3 separate regions of the Homo sapiens genome follow, and regions 1 and 2 are each linked to region 3. Evidence: promoter capture Hi-C in human tissues and cell types (Jung and others, 2019). All regions are on one chromosome and are shown on one strand. Each heading gives the region's core, a stretch centred on a gene start or on the middle of the fragment in contact. The rest is flanking DNA. Distances are from core to core; before and after follow the strand shown.

What was found. The method cuts DNA at HindIII sites, captures the fragments that hold promoters and counts their contacts. A contact is called where the count stands out against the background at its distance.
Region 1: a contact is called between a fragment that was not itself captured here and the fragment with the promoter of GRIN2B in region 3, in 1 of the 25 tissues and cell types used here (lymphoblastoid cells).
Region 2: a fragment that was not itself captured here is called in contact with the fragment with the promoter of GRIN2B in region 3 in 2 of the 25 tissues and cell types used here (liver and mesenchymal stem cells).

The regions. Positions count from the first base shown.
Region 1 is chr12:14,028,860-14,031,814 of GRCh38, reverse strand. No RefSeq gene overlaps it. Among named protein-coding and RNA genes, the nearest start is that of GRIN2B, 49 kb to the right of the region's middle. The HindIII fragment of the contact is 5,625 bases long and covers 1-2,955 here.
Region 2 is chr12:13,919,501-13,922,578 of GRCh38, reverse strand. The region is part of intron 2 of GRIN2B (glutamate ionotropic receptor NMDA type subunit 2B); the gene reads left to right. Among named protein-coding and RNA genes, the nearest start is that of GRIN2B, 61 kb to the left of the region's middle. The HindIII fragment of the contact is 7,271 bases long and covers 1-3,078 here.
Region 3 is chr12:13,980,027-13,983,214 of GRCh38, reverse strand. GRIN2B (glutamate ionotropic receptor NMDA type subunit 2B) reads left to right here and starts at 1,613. Exons shown (of 14, transcript NM_000834.5): 1 at 1,613-1,873; 2 at 2,859-3,188. The HindIII fragment of the contact is 12,156 bases long and covers 1-3,188 here.

The DNA of each region.
Region 1 (2,955 bases), core at 410-2,909, 49 kb before region 3:
TCTCTCCAACTCAAGATCCTTAACTTAATTATACCTGCAAGGTCCCTTTTGCTGTAAAAGGATTCACAGGTTCTGGAGATTAGGATGTAGATTTTTTGGGGGAGGGCATTATTCTGCCTACCACAGTTACATTATTTTCTGGTTATGTGCTTTTATTATTTATTTATTTATTTATTTTGAGACAGAGTTTCACTCTTGTTGCCCAGGCTGGAGTGCAATGATACGATCTTGGCTCGCTGTAATCTCTGCCTCCCAGTTTCAAGCGTTTCTCCTGCCTCAGCCTCCCGAGTAGCTGGGATTACAGGTGCCCCCCACCACACCTGGCTAATTTTTTGTATTTTTGTAGAGATGGAGCTTCACCATGTTGGCCAGGCTGGTCTCAAACTCCTTACCTCAGGCGATCTGCCTGCCTTGGCCTCCCAAAATGCTGGGATTACAGGCAGGAGCCACCATGCCCAGCCTGGTTATACACTTTTAATAAGCATCTAGGTGTTATAGTGTGGCAGGACTCTAACATTGAAAATAAAGAACATAGAGTAATTTAGAGTCACATTTAAAAATCAACACCTAATTTACAATAAAGGTATGCAAAATCATCTGAAGAAGATATTATTTGTAGGCAAGCAAACCCATACTGTAACCTCTTCAGTGTCTTAATCACTAGTAAAATTAAATCAAATTAAAGCAGAAGGAGAATGACATAGGTTCATATTGGTAGTGCTCACCTAAGCTCTAAAATGGAAAGGGAGACTCAAAACAGAGACTGATTATTTTAGATCTCATGGACAGTATGTCCCTAGAATGAATAATTCAGAGATTTATCCTTGCATTTCAAATATACCAGGCCCATTGGCAAGATTATCTTTATGGTAGAATTATACATCAGACTAAGAATTCATTCATTCTGAAACTATATCTGTAGAATAGTATTGTTTCGTGAGCTATTGATAAGTAATCTATATAGACAGGAGTCAAATGCACTTTAGAAAAGCTGTCTGTCTGAGCCCTTTGAGATTCACAATGTATATCTGCAGTCCAAAGGAAAGAATGCAGTTATGAAATCTGAGTTTAATCCAGTGTTTCTCACATTTATTGTATTAGTGAACTTTTTGTCGTTGTTGGAAGATGTATTAAAACATCTCACAGAACATAACGCATTTTGGGAAACAATGAATTAAAGATTTGATTTATCTACATCCTGTTTTTTTGAGTCTGTGCTCACAAAACCATCTTTTGATTTCTATGTGATTGGGCCACAAGTAAAAAAAAAAATGTTTTGATCAGGCCAATGTGATATTTCTTGTACATGTGGTGTTATATTTCTCACTGTAAATTAATGCAAGAGCCTTTTGATGTTTACTTTCATCTCATGTACCTCTTAGCGTGAGTCAATTTGTCACCCACCTTCCATTTACTTTCAGATGCCTGTCTACTTACCTATACCTACAAAAGGAAGGGTAGCCAGAACTTTATGTACCACTGGAAAACAATAATGAGTTCTGGACTCTGAAAACTCATCCTGGTGACATGACATCATGGGAATTGCCTAGACTACTTTGAATAGCTGGATTTTGCATCTAAATGTCAACACAAAGTTTTAAGATTACCATATTTCTTTGCCCTTAGGCAATCACTTCAGCTTTTTTTTCTATCAACTAACTGATGCATAACAGCATCAATCTATTGTATGTGATTACTATGAAGTGTATTCATTCATACTGCTGATCCATAAAAGGGTCTTCCAAAGCTGAGAGAGAATACAAGGTCAACGAGGGGCAAAAACAGGTCAGGCCCAGCATGCAATTTTGTTTGAAAAAAATCAGCCTGTAACACAAAGATCTTTCATAAGAGCAAGTTAAAGTCTGAACCACTGGATTTTTGTCTTATTGTACTCAGCTGACTCTAATATATATCATGGTTTGTACTAAAATCCTTAACAACTCAGGAGAGGAAGAAAGCTTAGAGAAAGTTCAGATGAGAGTAACCAAGTATTGGAATATGAGAGCCATAGAGAAGGTGAAAAGATAAAGGATGATTTAGACTTGAGAAAATAAAATTATAGAAATATATAATAAGCTTCCATACTTTGTTAAGATTAGTATATTTAAACAAACTAAATACGTGGTAAGTAAAACTTTGTAATAGCCTTGCAGGTTTCATCCTTGCCATACTTCCTTGTTTGAGTTCCCTATTTACTCAAGCAGTGAGTTTCCCTCCCAAAAGTACTGTGTCTTGCAATGTGCCTTCTAAACCCCCTCTGTCTTCCAATGGTTCTTAATTACCACCCCTTGAGTTAAGATCTCAGACTTGTTCTCTACCTGCGTCATTTAAGAGTTATTCTTCTCACCAGTCCACACTGGCATAAACTTACAATTCCTTTTTGTTTAACGCTTTGCTAAACTGTGTTCTAGGTCTCATCCAATTAGAGAAAAAAGGATCACCTCCTCCCTTTTGACATAGGATAGGAAGTTGAACAGGGAATTCCACAAGGCACAATTCTCAGTAAGACCAGGACTTGTAGAAAATAATGTAATGGCACAAGATCTGAATTAGATCAAGAGAAAGCATATTTCCCTAAGAAATATTTTCTTTATATTTCCTGTCTTTTGTATATAAAAAGTCTAATTTTAATGTTGCATTATTAAGTTCTAAATTTATTTCTATTTAGAAAAGGTATAATTAAACAAAGCAAATCTACATATGACTTTAGTCTCATAGCTCTAAATAATAACACAATTACTAAATATTCATAGCAAGTTTTCATAAAAATTTCAGAATCGTATAAACAAATTACCCTAAATAGATATTTGGTACAAAAAAATGAAAAAAAGCTGTACTTTTAACTATTTTTAGTAGATTTATTTAATAGGCTCTGTGATCCAGAAATAGATTAAAACTTAAATCTTCTAAGTTTTAGTTATTTTAGAGTTATGGCTTTGAAGATTGAACTTTTAT
Region 2 (3,078 bases), core at 270-2,769, 61 kb after region 3:
CGTTGATAATTATTCATTTGCCTTTAGTCAGACTTTAGCCTCTGTGATGAGTTTTACAGTCTTGCCCATTTGAAATTTCATGCGCTGCTGTATCAGTCTCTTTTCTGGAGTCAAAATGTATTATTTCATTGACTGTGTGCTCCTCTCTACTAATCTTGTAATCCTAACCCAAATAACAATTCAGTTTGGAAGACTGCCATGTGGCCAAAACATGAGCTAGTTTTTTTCTCTCCACCTTCCATTGTGGAAGCGGGGGTTTGAGCTCAGACACCCAGGGCACCCTGCTATCTGCCACTCTGGCTAATGAACTGGAGACACCATGTCTCAAATGATCTGCTGAAGCACTTTAGTGCTCTCTGAACCATTGAGGAAAGATTGAATTAGATTCAGTCTACTTGTTTAACCTAAGCATATTTTACACTACTCAAATCCAGTAAAAATTGATAATGATAAATATTATATAGGAGAGCTTACTGTGTGCTAGACACCTTACTAGGTACTTTGCTTGTGCCACCTCTCAAACCTTCGTTCCAACCCTAACAATCCTGAGAAATAGGTATAATAACACTCATTTTCCTGATACAGAACCTAAGGCTTAGAGGCAAAATAACTTGGTCAAGGTTGCATATTTAACAATATATATTTCTTATCATTTAACCTCTGTTGCCACTTGTGCTTGGTACATACTTATCTGCCTATCCATCTATCCACTGATTCTTCAATTCAGGGAATAATATATCTATCGCATGCCTACTGTGGGCCAGGGACTGTTGGAGATGCACAGTGCTGGGCACAAAGCTCATTAGACATGGTGTCTTCCCTGCCACCAAGGATCTGGCATCCCAGTAGGCTAAGAAAAGATTTATATGGAAACTCTGACTTCATTGAACCTGACTTGCTGTTCACAGAGAATGTACAGACTTTCAACCTCCCCAATACTGCTGTACCATCTGAAATCCCTTCTTAGGGAACACAAGAGAAACTTAGATAGACATATAGAGAGAAAGATGTGCAGTGTGTTGCAAACTCTTCCATCAAGATACTCGAAATTACAGAGGAGGGTGGAAGCTCATCCTTCAGGTTGAGACTGCAAGGTAAAGTAGCCTTCTGCAAGAGTTATTTTCTCTTAGCTTTTATATTTTGTCCTGAAACTTTTTTATTTGATTTTACTTTTGAGATATAGTCTTGCTCCTGTCACCCAGGCTGGAGTATAGTGGCAGTGGCACAATCTAGGTTCATTGCAACTTCTGCCTCCCGGGTTCAAGCGATTCTCATGCCTCAGCCTCCCAAGCAGCTGGGACTACAGGTCTGCACCACCACAGCTGGCTAATGTGTTGTATTTTTAGTAGAGATGGGGTTTCACCATATTGGCCAGGCTGATCTTGAACTCCTGGCCTCAAATTATCTGCCTGCCTTGGCCTCCCAAAGTGCTGGGATTACAGGTGTGAGCTACCATGCCTGGTTCCTAAAACTTTATTTTAATATGCCCTTTCCCTATGATGTTTCAGTGATTATTTCAATATAAAAATAAATTTCCAAAATTACCTACTATTGAGTAAAATGGCTCAAGAATACGTACTGTGCTTTGTTAGGGTTTTACATATCCTTGGTGCCGTTAGGATTGGTACAAATCCTGCAACTTGAGAACCATGGGGCAGACTAATGTATTAGTCAGGATTCACAGAAGCCACCTTGGGTATTTTGAAGAGGAAATTTAATACAGGGAATTCAAGGTTTACACAATCTTTAGAAGGCTGGAGGAGTGAAGAACAGGAAAGCTTCATTTGGGAAAAATGTAAGCGAAGGGCTACAGTGAGGCAAGTGGGTGATTCTCAGGAGATGCCTGATGTCACCGGCAAAACTGTACCTTTGCCACAGGCCAACATCAAAGTGACGTCTTCCAGGTGCACCTGGAGCATAGCAGCTTCTTTTTCTCTTCCACCTTCCCCACCTCAGTCTGGAGCCTCTCACTGCTGGGATCTAACCAGGAACTTGTTAGCAAAAACATCCAGGAAAGGAAGGAAGTTTCTAGGCTTCATAAACCTGGAATGCAAAAGAGAGCTTAGAGATGTGAGAATGGTGCTAAGGATCAACAAACAATATCCTGCACAGTTACAAAATGATGTTTTTGCCTAGGATAAAGCAGTCTTATCCCATCTTTTCCCTACTTCCATTCTATTCCTTTGAATTTTTTCCTTGAGAAGTTAAAGTACCAATGAATGATGCTTCTGTGAGAAGCGTAAGTGAGTTGGGGAAATTTAATTCTGTTGACTCTCATTTTTTCACTTCACCTCCTACTCTCCACCCTCCTAGTTCTCCCAATCCCCGTTTTTTTTTTTTTTTCTTGAGATAGGGTCTTGCTATGTTACCCAGGCTGGCCTCAAACTCCTGGGCTCAAGCGATCCTCCTGCCTCAGCCTCCTGAGTAGTTGGGATTACAGGTGTAAGCCACCACACCCAGCTCTAATTCCTTTTTTTCAGTGAGGAGGCGGGCTCTTAGTCCCAGGATTGTGACTGAATTCCTCTGAGGGCTTTTTACCACCCTAGGCCTCTTCAGAGATAAGCTCTTTAGGGAAGACAGAAGGGAGAAAATCTGAATTGATGGCAAGGCTTTGTGGTGTATTCCTCTGCAGGAATGTGATCTTCCTCCTGTGGTAAAGGGCGTCAAATGCTCCAGCCAGTTCATCTGCATCGTTGTTGCTCTCATTTTCAAGGTGATTCTGATATGACCCCAAGAATGTCTGCTTTTTTTTTGAGTTCCTGAGCTCCCACATTCCCATCAGTGTTCAGAATGGAGGGCCATGGACCCTTTCCAGGGAGACGATCCCCGCATCAGCTTCCAATTTTCAAGCAAGATCTTGGCCAACAGCTTTATAGGGTTCATTTGGATGCTTCCCTACCTTCTTATAAATGGATACTGTCATTTTCCACTAGTAAACCCAAAGACTTAGTTTAAGTTGATGCACGGTCTTAAAAGACTGCATCACGTGGCATTTGTTATTTTTAGAGATATTATTAAGCCCTTAAGAAAAAAACAAAAAGCCATATTGTCTCTACCTGGAATCTTTCATGTCATACA
Region 3 (3,188 bases), core at 364-2,863:
CTTCCCCAAAGTAGTGAAAGATCAGTTCTAACTCTTAGAAAAATAGAAAACCATTACTGAGAAGGAATAATTTGCATGTGAACACACTCTATTTGTGTTTTCACACAATGCTTATGTGTTCGTGTGTGTTAAATATGTTAGATTCAAAAATTAAGCCTGAGAAAAACCAGGAAACAGAAGAATTACTGTAGCTCAGAAGTATGAGTAGTCTGGTCTACAGGACAGCAAAAACATATCTGATGGCTTCTACAGACTAAAGTTCCAAGCCACTAGGTATATCCACTCACACAGCCTTCTCTCCTGTGCGTTTGTATGGCCGCTTCTCAGGAATGCTGGTGAGAAGCCCATGATATAACCAATATGAAAATGTTCCACCACTGTAGTATTCTAGATATTTGAAAAGACAATGGATGAGAATGAAAATGATGCATATACAATAATATTAATGTTAAAAGTAAACAATACTACAGGTGGTGATAAGGGCTATTAAAATATAAAAGAGTTCAATAGGAAGAGAAATGAATGGATGTTTGCCTTTTCAAAGAGGGTGGGTTTGTAAATGCCAGGAAATCCAGTTTCCTTTAGGGATTATTCACGGGCCTCACCATCTTCTCTTCTCAAGGCATTTAAATAACAGGATCCACTTTAATAAAAAATGTCAAACTCCTCCCGCCTTCACTAGCAGCCAGAAAAGCACGCGTATGGTCCATACTATACAATTTAGCCACGAATGACACCTGCTTTGCTTTGTTTTCTATTGTGTTAGGCGTCAGCCTCGTGTGCTCAGATAGATCTTAAGCTCCTTGAAGGCAAGAAAGAACCCGGTCCCAGACTGCGTCCGACACACAGAATGCTCGTAGGAAGCACAGGCTGATTTATGGAAAATACAGCAAGGGTCTTCAATTTCGAACTACAGCTCCGCCTTGGAGATGCTTTCCGCAGCCCGCGGGCCGCCCACGGGGGGCACTGTCTAGCTCCCCTCGCCCCTCAGCCGCTCTCCGTCGGTGCTGTTCCCCGCTGCGGCCGGGAGGAGGCGCCACGGACTCGGGCTAAGCTTCTTCCCCCTTCCGTCCCCCTTCCATCCACCTTACCACCCCACTTCCCCAGCACATGACGTGGGAAGCTGCCTCCGCCAGAGTCTTAGCAAGAGGAGTGAGGGGGTGCAGGGGCTTGGGGGTGGGGTGGGGTGGGGGGTGTGGAGAAAGAGGACACGCGCGCTCACACCCGCCCCTGGGAGCAGAAGCAGTATCTTCCCCAGCTTCGTGGGTTTCTCCTCCCCCCGGAGTCAGGGTGTGCGAGGTAGGGGGTGTGTGTGTGTCTGTGTGTGTGTGCGCGGCACGTTTTTGAGTGTGAGACCCAAATCCAGACCAGGCAACCTGCGTTCCCCGCGCCTCCCCCCGTCCCCGGTGATTAATACCCATTTTTCTGACGCTCCCCTCCTCCCCTCCTGCTCTCCCTCTCCGGCTGCCGCGCGGTTGACTTGCACAGCCTGCCCCCGCCCGCTTCCCTTCCCCCGGCTCCGATCCTCACCAACTGGAATCTGGGCTCCTGCCTCTCCACCCCCCACCTCTTTTTGAGAAAGGAAGGTTCCCCCCACCCCCTTTCAAAAACCACTTCCTCCGGCTTCTTCACCTCTAGGAAATCTCGGGGCTTCGCTCTATCGAGAGTGCTCGTCAAGGGTGATTCTTGATCACCACCATCCAGTAGTGCTGGCGTCCGAATGCATATCCTTTTGCCTTGCAAAGAAGAGTCATGAACTTCAAAACCCCCGAGACGGATCATTAATCCTGCTTTGCAGGAAAGGAAAACCCTCCATTCCCAGCCACCGGCCACCCCTCTCCGCAGACTGCAACCGCGGAGGCGCTCGGAGCCGGTACGTAAAGATGGGCTTTGGAGTCTCTCCTTTGAATGTAGGGGTTTGGGGGTGTCAGGCAGATAAAGGGTCGAAGCCGTGAAATCGTGAACGAATCTGGCATGAGGTAAAGCTCTGAAATCCAGCAGAACCCGGCACTTGCTAATTTGGACGTGGCTTTTTTAAAGGTTTTTTTTTTTTGTGGGGGAGGGGGTGCTGTGACTGGGTAGGGCTGTCTCTGGTCTTTTGGGGGGTTTCATCCCTTCACCTAGCAGAGGGGCAGGGCAGCGGCGCCCCGGGCCGGACCCACGCGCCGAGCCCATCCGTCCAATCGACACGTTGCAGGTGAAGCCCCGTGCGCTGCACCTCAGCGCGGCGGCAGCGTGAGTGTGCGCGGGGGTGAGTGTGCGCGGGGGTGAGTGTGAGTGCGCGCGGGGCGCGTGCGCGTCGGGGGCGTGTGTGCGCGCGTCAGTGTGCCCCTTCCAAGAAATGCCCAGTGTGCACCCCGTGCACAATCAGAACCCATTCAGCACAAGCCCGGGGTGGGAGGCGGCGCTGCTGCTGGAGGCGATGGGGAGAGCGAGCGAGACAAGTCAGCAGCAATGCAGATGGGGCTGGGGGCCGCACTCGCTGGCGAGTTAAGTGGGAATTGTGTTTCTGCGTGTGTGTGAGTGTGTGTTGCTGTATGGTGCCGCTTCTCCCCCCCTTCCTCCTTCCTTCCCACTTCCCTCCTTCGCTCGCTCCCTCCCTCTCTCCTCTTCCATTCAGGTTGGCTTTCCCACCTCTCATCCGTGCCTGTCCCAGGAATGGTATAGCCAGACCTTTTCTGAATTATTTATAGACCGGTACCAGCTGTTTTCAATTCCTCTCGTGTGCACTCTGTGGGAAATGCGGGGTTTCCTCCCCCCTTTCCTTAAAACGAATTGATATCTTTTTCGGAATGCATTTTTCTCACCCTCCGGGGGACACGCGAATCAAGCCCTGACCGCCTCTTTTTCCCCCTTAGGAAGGGGACGCTTTGGGAATGACCATGCTCCACCGAGGGACGGAGCCGGCCCCCAGCTTCTCCACACAGAGCCTCCTCCACTAACGCTCCAAAAACCAAAAACCGTAATTGCCAGAAGAAGCGTTAAAAATCTATTCCAGCCACTAACCTCACATGCACACGGAATAATTACTCTGGATTCTGCATTGTGAGCTGCTCTCCATACCCTGAATTACCTTTGAATTAAATCTTTTTTTTTTTGAATTTGCATCTCTTCAAGACACAAGATTAAAACAAAATTTACGCTAAATTGGATTTTAAATTATCTTCCGTTCATTTATCCTTCGTCTT